4 separate regions of the Homo sapiens genome follow, and all the other regions are linked to region 1. The links are contacts of gene promoters, found by promoter capture Hi-C in human tissues and cell types (Jung and others, 2019). All regions are on one chromosome and are shown on one strand. Each heading gives the region's core, a stretch centred on a gene start or on the middle of the fragment in contact. The rest is flanking DNA. Distances are from core to core; before and after follow the strand shown. Region 1 holds the start of MED30 (mediator complex subunit 30). Region 2 overlaps EXT1 (exostosin glycosyltransferase 1). Region 3 overlaps EXT1 (exostosin glycosyltransferase 1). Region 4 overlaps EXT1 (exostosin glycosyltransferase 1).

The links. The method cuts DNA at HindIII sites, captures the fragments that hold promoters and counts their contacts. A contact is called where the count stands out against the background at its distance.
Region 2: a fragment that was not itself captured here is called in contact with the fragment with the promoter of MED30 in region 1 in 1 of the 25 tissues and cell types used here (mesenchymal stem cells).
Region 3: a fragment that was not itself captured here is called in contact with the fragment with the promoter of MED30 in region 1 in 1 of the 25 tissues and cell types used here (H1 embryonic stem cells).
Region 4: a fragment that was not itself captured here is called in contact with the fragment with the promoter of MED30 in region 1 in 1 of the 25 tissues and cell types used here (hippocampus).

What each region holds. Positions count from the first base shown.
Region 1 is chr8:117,518,814-117,522,473 of GRCh38, forward strand. MED30 (mediator complex subunit 30) reads left to right here and starts at 1,900. Exons shown (of 4, transcript NM_080651.4): 1 at 1,900-2,240. The coding sequence starts at 2,064. LOC105375716 (a long non-coding RNA gene) reads right to left here and starts at 1,907. Exons shown (of 7, transcript XR_928569.3): 1 at 1,741-1,907; 2 at 226-364. The HindIII fragment of the contact is 5,716 bases long and covers 1-3,660 here.
Region 2 is chr8:117,967,973-117,971,632 of GRCh38, forward strand. All of the region lies in intron 1 of EXT1 (exostosin glycosyltransferase 1), which reads right to left. Among named protein-coding and RNA genes, the nearest start is that of SNORD168, 49 kb to the left of the region's middle. RefSeq lists a silencer at 2,013-2,072. The HindIII fragment of the contact is 6,182 bases long and covers 1-3,660 here.
Region 3 is chr8:117,939,914-117,943,573 of GRCh38, forward strand. All of the region lies in intron 1 of EXT1 (exostosin glycosyltransferase 1), which reads right to left. Among named protein-coding and RNA genes, the nearest start is that of SNORD168, 21 kb to the left of the region's middle. The HindIII fragment of the contact is 8,665 bases long and covers 1-3,660 here.
Region 4 is chr8:117,894,687-117,898,346 of GRCh38, forward strand. All of the region lies in intron 1 of EXT1 (exostosin glycosyltransferase 1), which reads right to left. Among named protein-coding and RNA genes, the nearest start is that of SNORD168, 24 kb to the right of the region's middle. The HindIII fragment of the contact is 5,152 bases long and covers 1-3,660 here.

The DNA.
Region 1 (3,660 bases), core at 650-3,149:
TCTTTCCTCTCCTTAATGTTCCTGATCCAGTTACTATCAAGTTCTCTAGATTCTACTTACTAAATATTTATTCAAAGTTACCCTCTGTCTCCTTTCTCTGCACAGGTCATGATCATCATCATCATTCCCCTTTGGGAGAGAAGACAATAGAAACCCACCATCTGTTCCCCATTTAGCAACCAGAATAAGTGTTCTAAAATGAATATTTCAAATTATTCCTCTCACCTTGAAACTCTTCAATGGCTTGCTATTTCACTCCATAAATTCTCAACTGCTTGACATGGGTTAGAAGATCCTCCAGGGTTGCCTCTGTCTTCAGCCTTATTTCCTAACACTCGTCCTCACACTGAACTTCTTCCAGATCCTAGAAAGCATTAGGAGGCCTCTTCACTTCAGGTGTTGGCACTGGCCTTCCTCGTCCTCATAGAAAAGACTCTATCATTCGTTACTCCCTTCCCTATCCACCTTCAGGTTCCACACTGCTCCCTTCAGGTCGTTCTCAATCTCCTAAATTGTTAGCACCCTGATATCAGGAACTTTTGCTTCAAGACGCTCATCACAATAGTGTTCTGTTTGTCCCCATGACAAACATGCTGCAGGGCTTTTGCCTGGTTTGTTCAGTACGCTATCTTCACTCCTAGCACCCAGCACATAATAGGTGCTCAGCCAATATTTGTCGAATGGTAATTACCGAAGACCTGCGAATTACTATGTTTAAAATCTCTACCAGGGTTCCTATGACATATTTAGTAACTATTTCCTGGAAAGTCCGTACAATGGAGCATTCAGATACTTCTAAAAAATGCAATGTTTGTGCCTATCACTAATTTTACATTCTTCACTTTTCCCCACTTTGGAGATGAACAGTAAGTGAGAGACATTGTGAGAGACATTTTAATTTCTCTTGCATTTATCATGTCACTCAACAATCATTCAATAAGTATTTATTGATACTTGTGCCAATCACTAGGTGTTGAGAATAAGTGAATAAAATAGTCTGTTTTCATGGAGTTGGCAGTGTGTGTAGATAGGGTGAGATAAAGTCTGAAAGTAAACAAACTGAAAGCTATATAAAATATCAGACAGTAGGCCGGGCGCGGTGGCTTATGCCTGTAATCCCAGCACTTTGGGAGGCCGAGGCGGGCGGATCACGAGGTCAGGAGATCGAGACCATCCCGGCTAACACGGTGAAACCCCGTCTCTACTAAAAATACAAAAAATTTGTCGGGCGTGGTGGCGGGCGCCTGTAGTCCCAGCTACTCGGGAGGCCGAGGCTGGAGAATGGTGTGAACCCGGGAGGCGGAGCTTGCAGTGAGCCGAGGTCGCGCCACTGCACTCCAGCCTGGGTGACAGAGCGAGACTCCATCTCAAAAAGAAAAAGAAAAAAAAATCAGACACTAATAAGAGCCAGAGTCAGAAAGAAGTGTGTGTGTTGATCATTTTTTTTGCTTACAGATACTGGGAAAACTCAAAGAATAAAACATCTGAGCAGGGACCAAGAGCAATCGGGGAGTCCGTATCATGTCACAGAGAAGCGTACAAGCTTAGGAATCTTGTTTTCTGAATTCGAATCGCAGGTTGCCAGTTACACCTGTATGCGACTCAACAAGTACTTTAACCTGTCTCTTAGCTGTTATACTACAAACCTCAGGCTTGTTAAGAGAAAATGCTCCGCAAGGAACTAAACACAGAAGGTTCTAACGCTGAGCCAAGACTGGGAAACGAACTCTGGGAACTCACCCCAGGCTCCCCAAGAACATCGCCCCTCTGGCTGGAGCGCAATTGGTGATTGGCTACTTAACCCGTCCGTCCTTTCCCGCCCAGGGGTCCAATCCAATCCAGCCCGGCTCCGCTCGGAGACAGTTCGCCGAGTGGGCGGTGTCTATGACGTTTTCTGACGTGTTACGTCACAGTGGGCGGAAGTCGCGGCCGCTGTTTTGAAATCGGGCCGCGGGGGGTCTCTCAAGCTGGTTCCAACGCTGAGGCCCCACAGCCTCCCAATTCCGGGCAGACCCCTGACACCTGCTGTCTGGCCCCTTCCGGCCTGAAGCTGCAGCCGCGCCATGTCCACCCCTCCGTTGGCCGCGTCGGGGATGGCGCCCGGGCCCTTCGCCGGGCCCCAGGCTCAGCAGGCCGCCCGGGAAGTCAACACGGCGTCGCTGTGCCGCATCGGGCAGGAGACAGTGCAGGACATCGTGTACCGCACCATGGAGATCTTCCAGCTCCTGAGGAACATGCAGGTAGGAAGGCGGGCGCGCGAGGCCAGGGGGATGCAGCTGGGAGGGAAAGGGCCTCTGGTTTCCTCTTTACGTGGGGCCCGTGGATGTCATCGGGGCTGCCCTGGGCAAACCTTAGGTGTAGGGTCTCCCCCATTCACACTCAAGAGTGTCCCCAAAAGTCGGATTTGTAGAGGTGATGTTTTCCAGACCAGATTTCTGCAGAATTGAAGCCAATTTTTTTTAGATTCAATCGAGCTCTTTAGTTACTCTGTAAACTCTTGCACCTTTCAAGGCAGAGATGGGTCGCACTCCACTTCCCTCTTTAGGTTGCTTTAAATGTTTTTTCCAGCATTTCTTCTGGGGAGGTCCAAGGAGTTGAAGAATTTACATTTTTTTTAAAAAAACAGTCCTCCTTTTTTTGGCATAGTTAATATACAGTAAACTACACTCACCTAAAGTTTTGATATATATGTGTACTGTAGTCTGTATACTTGTGAAATTATCACCACAATCAAAATAGTGTACACATCATCCCAGAAAGTTTCTTCATACCCCTCTGACATCTTTGCTTCCCACCTTCCATCGCTAAGCAACCATTGATCTGCGTTCTGTAATCATAAATTAATTTGCATTTGCTAGGGTTTTATATAAACGGAGTCTACAGTATGTGGGCTTTTTTTTTTGTCTGAGATCCTTCACTAAGAATGCATCAATAATTTCCTTTTTATTGCTGAGTAATGTTCCATTGTATCCATGTATCACCATTTGCCTACCTTTTCTTCTGTTGATGGACATTTGGGTTGTTTCCACTTTTTGGCTGTTGTAAATAATGCTGCTATGAACTTTTGCTGACAAATTTTTGTGTGAACGTATGTGTCATTTCTCTTGGACAGATTCAGGAGTGGAATTGCTGGATCATGCAGTACATGTCTGTTTAATACTTTAAGAAACTTTTCCAAAGTGGCCTGAGCCATTTTACGTCCCGATTATTGCTAGTGGGAATGTAAACATTGCTGTTTGAGGGTTCTAGTTTCTCCTCATCCTCATCAACACCTGTTATGTCTTGATGCTTTCCAAATACTTCTCCCAGTCTATCCTGCCTTTTTATTCTCTTAATACTGTCTTTTGAAGAACAGACATTTTAAATTTTGATGGAATCCAGCTTACTGATTTGTTCTTTTATAGATTTTGGTTTTGCTGTCATACCTAAGAAATCTTTGCCTAACCCAAGGTGACAAAGGGTTTCTGTTTTCTTCTAGAAGTTTTGTACTTTCAAGCTTTATATTTAGGTCTACAACCTATATTTAGTTTTGTGAGTTTTTAAATATGTATACATAGTGGCAGATACGGATCCAAGTTCATTGTTTTGCATTTGGATATCCAGTTGTTCCAGCACCATTTTGCTGACCCATTTTTAATGCTTGCTTATATTACCCACTAC
Region 2 (3,660 bases), core at 845-3,344, 450 kb after region 1:
CACATACAAAAAAATGGGTAGCCATGCAAGATGATAGACATGTTAACTTGCTTCACTATCAACCATTTTACTATCTACATATACATGTATCTCTTAACATCATGTTGTATGCCTTAAATATAAACAATAAAATTTACTTTTTAAAATTTTTTTATTTGAGACAGGGTCTGTCACTCAGACTGGAATGCAGGGGCATGATCATAGCTGACTGTGGCCTCCATCTCGGGGGCCCAAGCGATCCTCCCACCCCAACCTCCCCAGTAGCTGTGACTACAGGCACACAACACCGTGCCCAGCTAATTATTTTGAAATTTTTAGTAGTTTTTTGAAATTTTAAAGGTCTCGTTGTGTTGCACAGGGTGGTCTTGAACTCCTGGGCTCAAGCAATCCTCCTTCCTTGGCCTCCTAAAGTTCTGGGATTATAGGTGTGAGTCACCATGCCTGGCCAAAATTTACTTTTTTCAAATGAGGCAATAAGTATCACAGCTGAGGTTCAAACTCAGGCCTGCCTTACCACAAAGTCTGTGCTCTAATTAAATACTACTTATTCTGCCTTATTTATTTATTTATTTATTTATTTATTTTTTTTTTTTTTTTTTTTTTTTTTTTTTTTTTGAGACGGAGTCTCACTCTGTCACCCAGGCTGGAGTGCAGTGGCTTGATCTCGGCTCACTGCAAGCTCCACCTCCCGGGTTCACGCCATTCTCCTGCCTCAGCCTCCCGAGTAGCTGGGACTATAGGCGCCCACCACGACGCCCGGCTAATTTTTTGTATTTTTAGTAGAGACGGGGTTTCACCAGGTTAGCCAGGATGGTCTCGATCTCCTGACCTTGTGATCCGCCCGCCTCGGCCTCCCAAAGTGCTGGGATTACAGGCGTGAGCCACTGTGCCCAGCCAATTCTGCCTTATTTAAAGCAGTAAATATTTGACTGTAAACTACCTATTGTATACAGCTCTGTCTCTTCCTGATGTCCAAACTGTTTATTAAGCAAAAATAAGTTCTATACCATGGTGGTATATAAAAGAAGGAAAATGCGAAAAGCAGACCCAGTCCAGAGGAGTTACCATCTTTATTGGGAAGATAAGACTTTTACGAATGAAATAATTAGGGAAAAAAACAAAGCGGCCACATTTATTACCAAAAGCCTCGGGGCAGGGTCCAAATCTTTTATGAGAAGCCCCATTATTTGGAATCCAAACTAAGTAAAAATGTGAACAACTGAGATTTGGTCCCTTCCTTGTCATCCCTGTACTGCCACCCAAGAAGATCCTTTTATACTATTTTAAGAGAAATTGAAAATAATAAACAAGTAGATTGTCCTCAGGAATTTAATATTTCTTAACGGAATTGAACAGAGTTTTCCAGGGCAATCTCTTCCACCATTCGTTTCCATAGTATTGTATAGCAAATGGTTGTTTAGCCCAACAAACTAAAAATGTCAACCACAGCCTTGAGACCCTCTAAATTCTATAAAGTGAAACGTCTCACTTTGAAATATGCACATTGATCCCAGAGACGCAAATTCTCTCACTTTTAAGGCTATTGTGAAACTAACTCCAGCTTCATCTTTATGGAGCTGTTTCAATGTATAATTTAAGAAATCACTTCCAAATACTGAAAAATCCGTGAAAATCCTGCATAAATTATGCATGTTTGCGAGTCCCCTCCCTCATGTTGTGACAGATCTGAGCTATGTGGTGGTGGCAGTGGTGTGTGTGTGTGCGCGCGCACGCGTGTATGTGCATGCACATGCACACATGGTGTGGTTGAGATGGAAACCTTTCTCGCAAGCTTATTGAATATTTCCACCTCCTACAGAGCACTCTGAAGAAATGCACTTTTTCAACATTCAGATGAATGTGAATCAGAACGGCAGTTCTCCCAGGACTCATCTTTTATATTGAACGTAGGGTCACTGACAGGATTGAAATGGATCCAAGTTACCTTGATTAGCTGATTTTTAAAAGATTAGAAGCAGCCAGCTATGGACCGGAGGAAGGAGAACTGATTCTAGTGTCTGCTCTACCACAAAAAAGCCATGAGAATTTTAACATGTTACTTCAACCCTCTAAACCACAGTTTCCTTTTGTGTAAAATGAGGGATAAACCAGATAGTCTTTAGGTGGAATTCATGAACTGCCAGCCTGCAGACGTATTTGTTTAGCTAAGCTTAACCCCAAGATCTTTTTTATACTGGAGCACTATAAAGAGGTTTTATGGCATGACTCTCAAATTTTAGTGCATGACAGACTCTCCCAGAGAACCTACACCTGGGCTGTACCCCCAGAACTTCTGACCTAATTGGTTTGAGGCAGGGCTCAGGAATCTACATTTTTTTTTTTTTTTTTGACACGGAGTCTCACTCTGTCACACAGGCTGGAGTGCAGTGGCGTGATCTCAGCTCACTGCAACTCCGCCTCCCAGGTTTAAGTGATTCTCCTGCCTCAGCCTCTTGATTAGTTGGGATTACAGGTGTGTACCACCATGCCTGGCTAATTTTTTTTGGTATTTTTAGTAGAGATGGGGTTTCATCATATTGGTCAGGCTGGTCTCAAACTCCTGACCTTGTGATCTGCCTGCCTCAGCCTCCCAAAATGCTGGGATTACAGGCGTGAGCCACCATGCCCGGCCAGGAATCTGAATTTTCAACAGGGGCTTTCAAGGGATTCCAAGGTACTTGGTCCATGGACCACACTTTGAGCATAGTGGGTTAGTTGAAATTCTTGGTGATCTAAGTGCTCACATCACAACTTAGCAGTTACAAACTTCATTGAGTGGAATCCAAAATCTGACTTAAATGAACCGGAATCACACACTAGAGGAGAGCACATGTGCTGGATGTATCCATGGAGTGCAGCAGTTCTAATGCTGCCACTTTCTGCCACTCACAAGCGGTGAATCCTGGGTAATCCGTTTTTCCATCTGGAAAAATAAGGGCAGCAGGATCATCTCACAGGATTCTCAAGAGGATGAGAAATCTCAGGGGGGTTACCTAGCATGATTCTTGGCACAGAGAAGATCCTCATGCCCTGTTATGTCTTCTCCTGGCCCCATTCCCTTCAGGGGCACTGCACTGCATGGAGCTGGCCTGCCCAAGAAGCACGAGGACACCAGGTGTGCACATAGCTTGCCTCTCGTGACCTCACCTGTGCAGGCTTGCCCTCAGCTTCCCGAAAGAGCAAAATGATCTTAATTTGTCCTGTTTGGGGAGGGAGTGGACTGCAACCACCTGCACTCATTTCAAAACAGACCACTCACTGTAGAAACTGAAAAGAAAACACATTTATTACTCCTCTCCCACAATACTACTTCACCTCCCCTGCCCTCAAAGCCTTAGTAAGTGGGCAAATTCCTAAAGTGGAAATTATATGATAAACTTTGGCCAAGCCATAAAACACAGCCGGGACTAAGGTCACAAAACAGTTACTGATGTATGTTCCCTGATCAAAGCCACTCCATGACACTCACTTTTAGGAGTCAAGGGGACTACAGAAACTTACAGGAAGAAAAAAAAGCAACTTTGAAGATAAATTAGAGAAGCAGTCTACTCATGGTCAAAAGACATTACTCTTTGAGCTTTATATATTAATGAAGATTAAATTCGAAGTTTATAAGCTCTTTGTGATTATTAATAATTCAATTACAAGGAGGTACAGAAG
Region 3 (3,660 bases), core at 382-2,881, 420 kb after region 1:
ATGAATGAATGAGTGCTTCTATTTGGCTATTGGATTGTGACTGTAACTTGCAGAATCTAGTTCTAGACCAAACTAGGACATGGTGGCCCTTTTCCATCCCCTGACATGATTCTTGGGTCCACCATGGATGTCCCAGTCTTCCTCTGAACAATTTTCACCATTACACCAATAAGTCATGGCATTCAATAGCACAGGCCAAGATTTACCAACTGTCAGATTCTGAGTGGCAGCCAGAATGTCATCCAAGAAGTAATACTTGTTTCAAGCCATCTACCCTAGGGCCCAGCCCATGTGGACAGCAGATGACAGCAGGCTACCTGCCCAGGCTGACTAGTGAGATGACATAGGCCGACTGGTGAGATGATGTAGACTGACATCCAGGGGAGCAGGTGGAAGAAAATGCTGGCACAGGGAACCTGTGGTATAATCTCAATGGCTATGGAATCCTGGGGTGGAAAGAGTGGCAAGCTGAGCTAGCATTCCTGGAAGAGCCCCCCGTATCTGGAAGGCTTGAAGAAACATTCCCACAGGGCTAAAAGCACTAGGCATCAAGGAAGGATGTTACAGCTCATTTCAATTCAAACGACCTTTACTAAATAGCTACACAGGGACAGCCCTGGGGTCTGGGGAGTAGCTATTTAAAGGTGAATTAAAACACGCTGCACCCTCAAGAAACTCATTAGTCTAGCAGGAAGCCAGACATTAAGCCAATCCACAGTGATACAAGGTGATCTTGATAAGGCCTAGAATGAGGCATAAGAAGACTCGGGAGATGGTAACATCATTAGTTCAGAATGAGAATTTCTGGTCTGGGAAAAACTTTACAAAATTGAAATCTGTCTGGGTCTTGAAGGATCAGTAGGAGTTTGACCTGTGGGTACAATGGAAGCTGCTGGCATCCTGCGTGTATTCCTTTTATTGGTCAGTGCAGTCACCCCTAGGCTGCTGGGATCTTGCAGGGGAAATGCCTGGGTAATTACCTACCCCCACCCAAAGGCAGCCTACAGCCAGTTAGTTACTGACTGATATGGGGGTCTCCATGGGGCCATACATGCCATTCATGCTACAGATTCCCCAGGGGTTAAGGCGGAGGTTGGACTTCAACTAGACCCACATCCTTCCCCAGCTTCCTGCCCTGCCCCATCCTGCTTCTCACATTCCTTTACTGGCTTCTACAAAGAAATAATTCTCTCAATAAGTCACTTGCATGAGAAACCCCGTCTCGGGACTCCTCTAGGGAACCCTACCTAAGTCAGAGGCAAGTGGGGGAGCAGCAACCAAAGTAGGGAGATTGTCATGTGCAGGCAATCCAGGCATGAATATCTGATGAATGCCGGCAGCTCTACCACGTATCATGGTAAGATGTTCAGATCTTTATTATGCAGGAAATACACAGCCACTGGACAGTTAGAGGAAGATAAGAAAATCAGAGTTCCTAAGCTGCAAAATTTTAAAGCAGGGACTTTGCTACTATAACATATGGAGGGGGGAATAGGCTAGGCCCATAGTTCAGAAAGCTGGTGGTCTGTGCAGCCTCCAGTAAGGCTGGATCTAGGGTAGTGAGAGTGGAACCTGGAAAAAGGGTAAATTCAACAGAGGCAGAAAAAGCAACACACTTTGCAAAGTAGTCAGGAAGGCAAACCCAGGCATTCGCCACACACAGCGCAGAAAGGGTTGATGGTGAGTGATCATTTTTTCAGCCCAAACCACATCCAGCCTTCTTAAGAGACCTGGCACAGAAGAGCTCTGTTCATATACATGGCACACCCTCATGTTAAATCTTTGGTTATTCCAGAATGGATCCTTCTAAAAGTTTCAAACACAAAACTCACTGTCACTTTTCTTCAAGTGACCACTCATTTTATAATGAAAACATGAGGTAGAAATCACAACTTCAAGCCTCCTGCCATCCAGTTTAAGACCTACAGGCAAAACGTACAAATGGCTGGGCAGCCTCACCCCTCTTGCTGTGTCACTCCACACTGTGAATGCCATGACTGTCACTGCCTGTGCTAATGCTACAATCCTAGTTCTACAAGTGGAATGCACAGTATCATCCTATTTTCAGATGGGACAACTGAGGATCAAAGTAAGTTGTTCAAGGAGTTATAGGTCTAATGGGCCCCAACACTGATGACCTTCCCATCACCTGCTGCTACCGTCTTAGCCTCAGTAATGTCCAACCTCATTAATTTTAACATGGAGGACCCATCCATATATTAAAATCCAATTCTTCTACTCTTTAAACTCAGCTCAAGCTTCATTCCTTCTATTAAGTCTGTAACCCAAATGAATCAGACCTTTTGCTGCATCCTCATTGTACCTGTGTGCACAGACCACAACTGCACCACCTATATACTACATACTTGAGGCATACATTTATCATCACTCCTCTGGGTTTCTTCCTTATGAGACTGTAATAATGTAGGGGAAAGGCAGACCTGGCCCCTGTCTTTATACCCCCAGAACCTAGCACAGAGGCTGGTAGGAGTAAATGATAAGAAAATTATACTCAAGGACGGGTGCGGTGGCTCATGCCTATAAACCTAGGACTTTGGGAGGCCGAGGTGGGCAGATCACCTGAGGTCGGGAGTTCCAGACCAGACTGACCAACATGGAGAAAGCCCATCTCTACTAAAAATACAAAATTAGCCAGGCATGGTGGTGCACGCCTGTAATCCCAGCTACTCGGGAGGCTGAGGCAGGAGAATCGCTTGAACCTGGGAGGTGGAGGTTGCGGTGAGCTGAGATCATGCCATTGCACTCCAGTCTGAGCAACAAGAGCGAAATTCGGTCTCCAAAAAACGAAAGAAAAAGAAAAAGAAGATTATACTCAAATATCCAACAAGTTCTGTTGAATGTTTTTTTAAACATTCATATGTAATGAAAATTACACTTGATATATACTAACGCTATGATCCTAATTCTACAAGTTGAATAAATTGGATGGCCCAGGGTCTACTCCCAGCCCTGACACGTAGCAGTCAAAGTGATCCTGGGGAAATACAGAGCTTCTTGGACCCATAGATTATTGGCACATGAAGCCATTGGGCTAGAAACTCTCAAACGTCTTTTTGAATACAAAGAATCTTGTTGCTACTCACATTTATAATAAAGCAAAATAGTCCATATCCAATTTTCCAGTAGCTCTTTGAAATGGATGTTTGTGAAAACATTCATGTAGAAGCCCTAAGAAGTTTAGCCAGAAAACCTAACTACTTTCTTCTTTAAAGAGTATTTGCTAAGGAAGCATTTATTTAGGCAATTTTAAAAAATGGTTTTAAGTCTTTAATGTAAACATTGCCTGATAATGGCAAGAGTAGGGGTAAACAGACACTACTACAAACTGCTAGTAAGAAAATAAATTGGGAGGTCTTTTGTGGAAGGCAATTTGACAATTTATCCTATGGAAATACCTGAGGAGGCTTGTAAAGAAATGCTATGATTATAATAGTCACAGCACCGATTGTAACAATGCATATTGCAACCAAATGACATACAATTATTTGATAAATTATAGTATATTTATGCAAAGGAATACTATATAGTCACATACAAAAAAAATGTGTTTATACAAGTATATTCAGTAGAATGGAAACTGCCTAGAGTAGACTGCTGGGTGAAAGAAGCACTTTAGGAGGCAGTGATGATATTCCTGCA
Region 4 (3,660 bases), core at 871-3,370, 380 kb after region 1:
GCCCTGTTTAAAAGCAGAGAATGGACAGTGTAAGTGCCTCTTCCCAAGACAGCCACCTCTGCCACTTGTAGTTAGAGAGGCTGCGACTGATCTGGACTGCGGCAAATTAAATGTGTTATAGGCAACACACTCTAAATAAGGCCGCCTCCCTTCTCGCAATGTCCAGTTTAGTCCTGGCACCTCATTTGAGGAGGTGAGGGACAGCAAGAGGAAATGACAGGAAGTGATAAAGGAGCTAAAAATAGATGTGGAAATGTGTAGATATGAGAGTTTCACTGAATATAAATAGGCTGATTAGATTAAGCATCAACTGGCAAATACAATGTCTATAAGCTTCTGGGTTTGCTGTATCAAATTGTCACAACCTCTGATGGGTGAACTAATAATCCACTGTCAATTCGATCATGATGTCATCTTAGATGACATGATCAAAATGGTCGTGAACCAGGGAAGGCTGTGAAGTTACAGTGAGTGATTTGATAACATCTGGCTTGCTTGGGCTCGGCTCTAATAGGGTCTCTGTGGGGTTTACCTCTGATTTGGTAAAAGCATTCTACAATCCAAAAATATCAAGCGTTGTCTACGGACATAAACCAGTCATGACCATAGGAGTTATAAACGGGTTTCAATGTTTTAGTTGACAAATGCTGCAATAACTGCTACACTTTATTGGGCACCTGTTCTGGCCAGGCATTAGGCTAGGACAGAAAGAATGAAGACAATTTGACAGGCATGGTCAATGCAATTATATTATAAAACATAGCAGGGCCAGCAGAGTCCACTCACAGCCAGAACCCTAAGTAGTTTCAAGCACTCAAAAATCAAACAGAAAACAACTTCACGCAAGACTGAAGGGAAGTCATTAAGACCCATCCAGGTCTGAGTGTTATACGAAAATGTTACTGTCGTTAATTACCTTCCAATAATAATGCCAATTACAGAAAATAATGAGAATGTTTACCCACCAAACTAATAGGGACTGGCATTTCAAAGTCTACCAGAATAACCTAGGCAACAAGAAATGTTCTGATTCTCCCATGTCTGGATGTTTTTGCTTTTTCTTCCTTTCCTGCTGACCCACTTCAAAGGTTTCATGCTGGAAACACTAATCATGTCCTCCTTTGCTGGAGTAAGTTACCCTCCTTTTTGCTCCCTGCCTAGTGCCTCCGTTCGCATCCAAAGTAACGCTCATTACCTGCAAACTCAAACTTCCAGCAGCCCACATGCAGATCCCAGCACACAGATATATCATTCCACATTGGCCTACCTGATTTACAGATCACATGGGTTTCTGAAATACAGATAAACGGGCACTTGGGGAAAGCAGTAATGTTGTAAAACGTAGAGAAGGTCATGCATGTATATTTTACCTGGAACCTCACAAGAATTGATAACATTTGTGGGATTTCATTTCTACCTACACAGAAAACACATATTCTAAGGGTTTAAACTTGAAAACTCACATTCAGGCACACATGCTTATGCCTGTCTATGGATGTGTGTGCATGTGTGCACATGCATGCACAAATCAAGAAGAGTTTCTATTTAAAGACAACTTGCACCAAAAAAATCCAGATTACTTTACAATGCAAATCATCATCTTTTGTATTTTATTACGAGCTTCCTTTAGTATATTAATTTCTAAGCATCTTTAACACAAATCATCATATACATACAACTCTCTCTTTCAGATTCAGAGAAGGAGTTAAAAATCAGCCAAAAAAGAAAGCAAAAAACAATGAAGATAAGGGAGGAGGGAGTGTATATGGAGCAAAAGGAGGAAGCCAGCTGGTTAGCTGGCCTTTTAAAAGGTATCAGGGAATTAGGCCCAAGGCCATTAATCCTACAGTTTTCACTCCTCTGCCAACTCTCACGGCTTACATTACCGAGCCATCATCCAGATTAAAAATGGGTTTCCATAAGGGTTTCTGCTTCCCCAGGAACCCTCCTCTCTACCCTCCCCACCTGCTGCCCCTTCACACAGCAGCAAAGTGAAATCCAAAAGAAAAATATTAAAATCAAACAAGGCTTTAGGGATTTGGGGAGGTGGATGGAGAACAGGTTCTTATCTAGGCTTTAGCACAATATTCCTTCTTCAAAGTCTTCTTAATTACATTGAGAGAAAGAACAAGCGACAAACAGAAGAGCTGCCTTCTAAATTCAGTGCCCCTCAATGAAGGGTTCAGGTTCACAGGTTCTAGCCCTAAGGGAGAATGATGATCTGTGCTCAGCTTCTTGCCACCCAGGGTCCCAGCCCCCCAGCCTCTGCCTCCATGTTTCCCTTCACCCCCACTTGCTCAGCTTCCTCCCTGCTCTAAGAAGTGCCCCTACTTGACAGCTATTCTGTCCATGGAATTTCCCTGCTGGGCACCTACATTTTATTTTTCAAGTGGAAAGAATGCAAGGTTAAGGACTGTGTTTCTAAGATCCCAAAGCTGCAGCCAGTTAAGAACTGAATAATTCAACCAGAACTAGTTGTTCTGTCCATACTAGCTGCATGTGGCTTTATCCCCTGTAACCTAGAGCTTGTAGAAATGAGAAAATTAAACCATATCCAGCAGGGCACAGAGCGTGCACATTGTCCTTCCGAGTAGATTCAAAAGGAGCTGGTAGTCATGCATCAGATGGTGTGGCAGTCTTACTGTTAAGGGACAAGCTAAGGGCTGACTGCTCTCCCCCACGAGTGGAAGTGCCAAAGTGGGTTTATCTTTACTGCAGGTCTCCTGTGTGCTGGAATCTGTGCTAGGCACTGTTCCTGCTTTATTTCAATGAACACTTGTAGCAATCTGAAAGGTCATATTGGCTAAGGACTTGAGCTCTGGATCTAAAGCAGGCCTTGTTTTCAATCTCAGATTCAGCACTTTCCAAGAGTGTCTTTGTAGCCCATTGCCGGGCTTCTTTTCTCTTTTTTTTTTTTTTTTTTTTTGAGACAGAGTCTCGCTCTGTCGACCAGGCTGGAGTCCAACGGCCCGATCTCGGTTCACTTCAACCTCTGCCTCCTGGGTTCAAGCAATTCTCCCGCCTCAGCCTTCCGAGTAGCTGGGATTACAGGCGCGTACAACCACGCCCAGCTAATTTTTGTATTTTTAGTAGAGATGAGGTTTCGAGGTTTCACCATGTTGCCCAGGCTGGTTTTGAACTCCTGGGCTCAAGCGATCTGCCCTCCTCAGCCTCCCAAAACGGTCGGATTATAGGCGTGAACCACCGCACCCAGCCGCCTGGAATTTTTAAGCCTCAAGTTTGTTCCACTTTGAATGCAAGAAGCCACCTCATAGGTAAGAATATTATTGAACATAAGGCATGGCACAAAATACTTTCTAAGTGATTATTGTCCTTGTTATACCCACTTTATAGATAAAAGATAAAGTCATTTGTCCAGAAGGCAAAGCCAGGAGTGGCTACTTAATTTTTCTTGACCCCAAAGTGTATACTCTTTCCATAACTTCCTGTTGTCTCCCATGGACCCACCTCAAAATCAGAGGTGTCACAGTGGTGGTTTAACAACCAAAGTTTCAAATTAGCCATATACATTCTGGGGGCTTCCAAGATCCCATACTGGGGTCTCCACCCTTATTTCCTTGCTCTCAGAAGTAATGTGTGATGAACCTGTTCTTTGGAGGAAGTACCTTCCTGTGGGCTGGCTGGCACACTGTCCCAGGC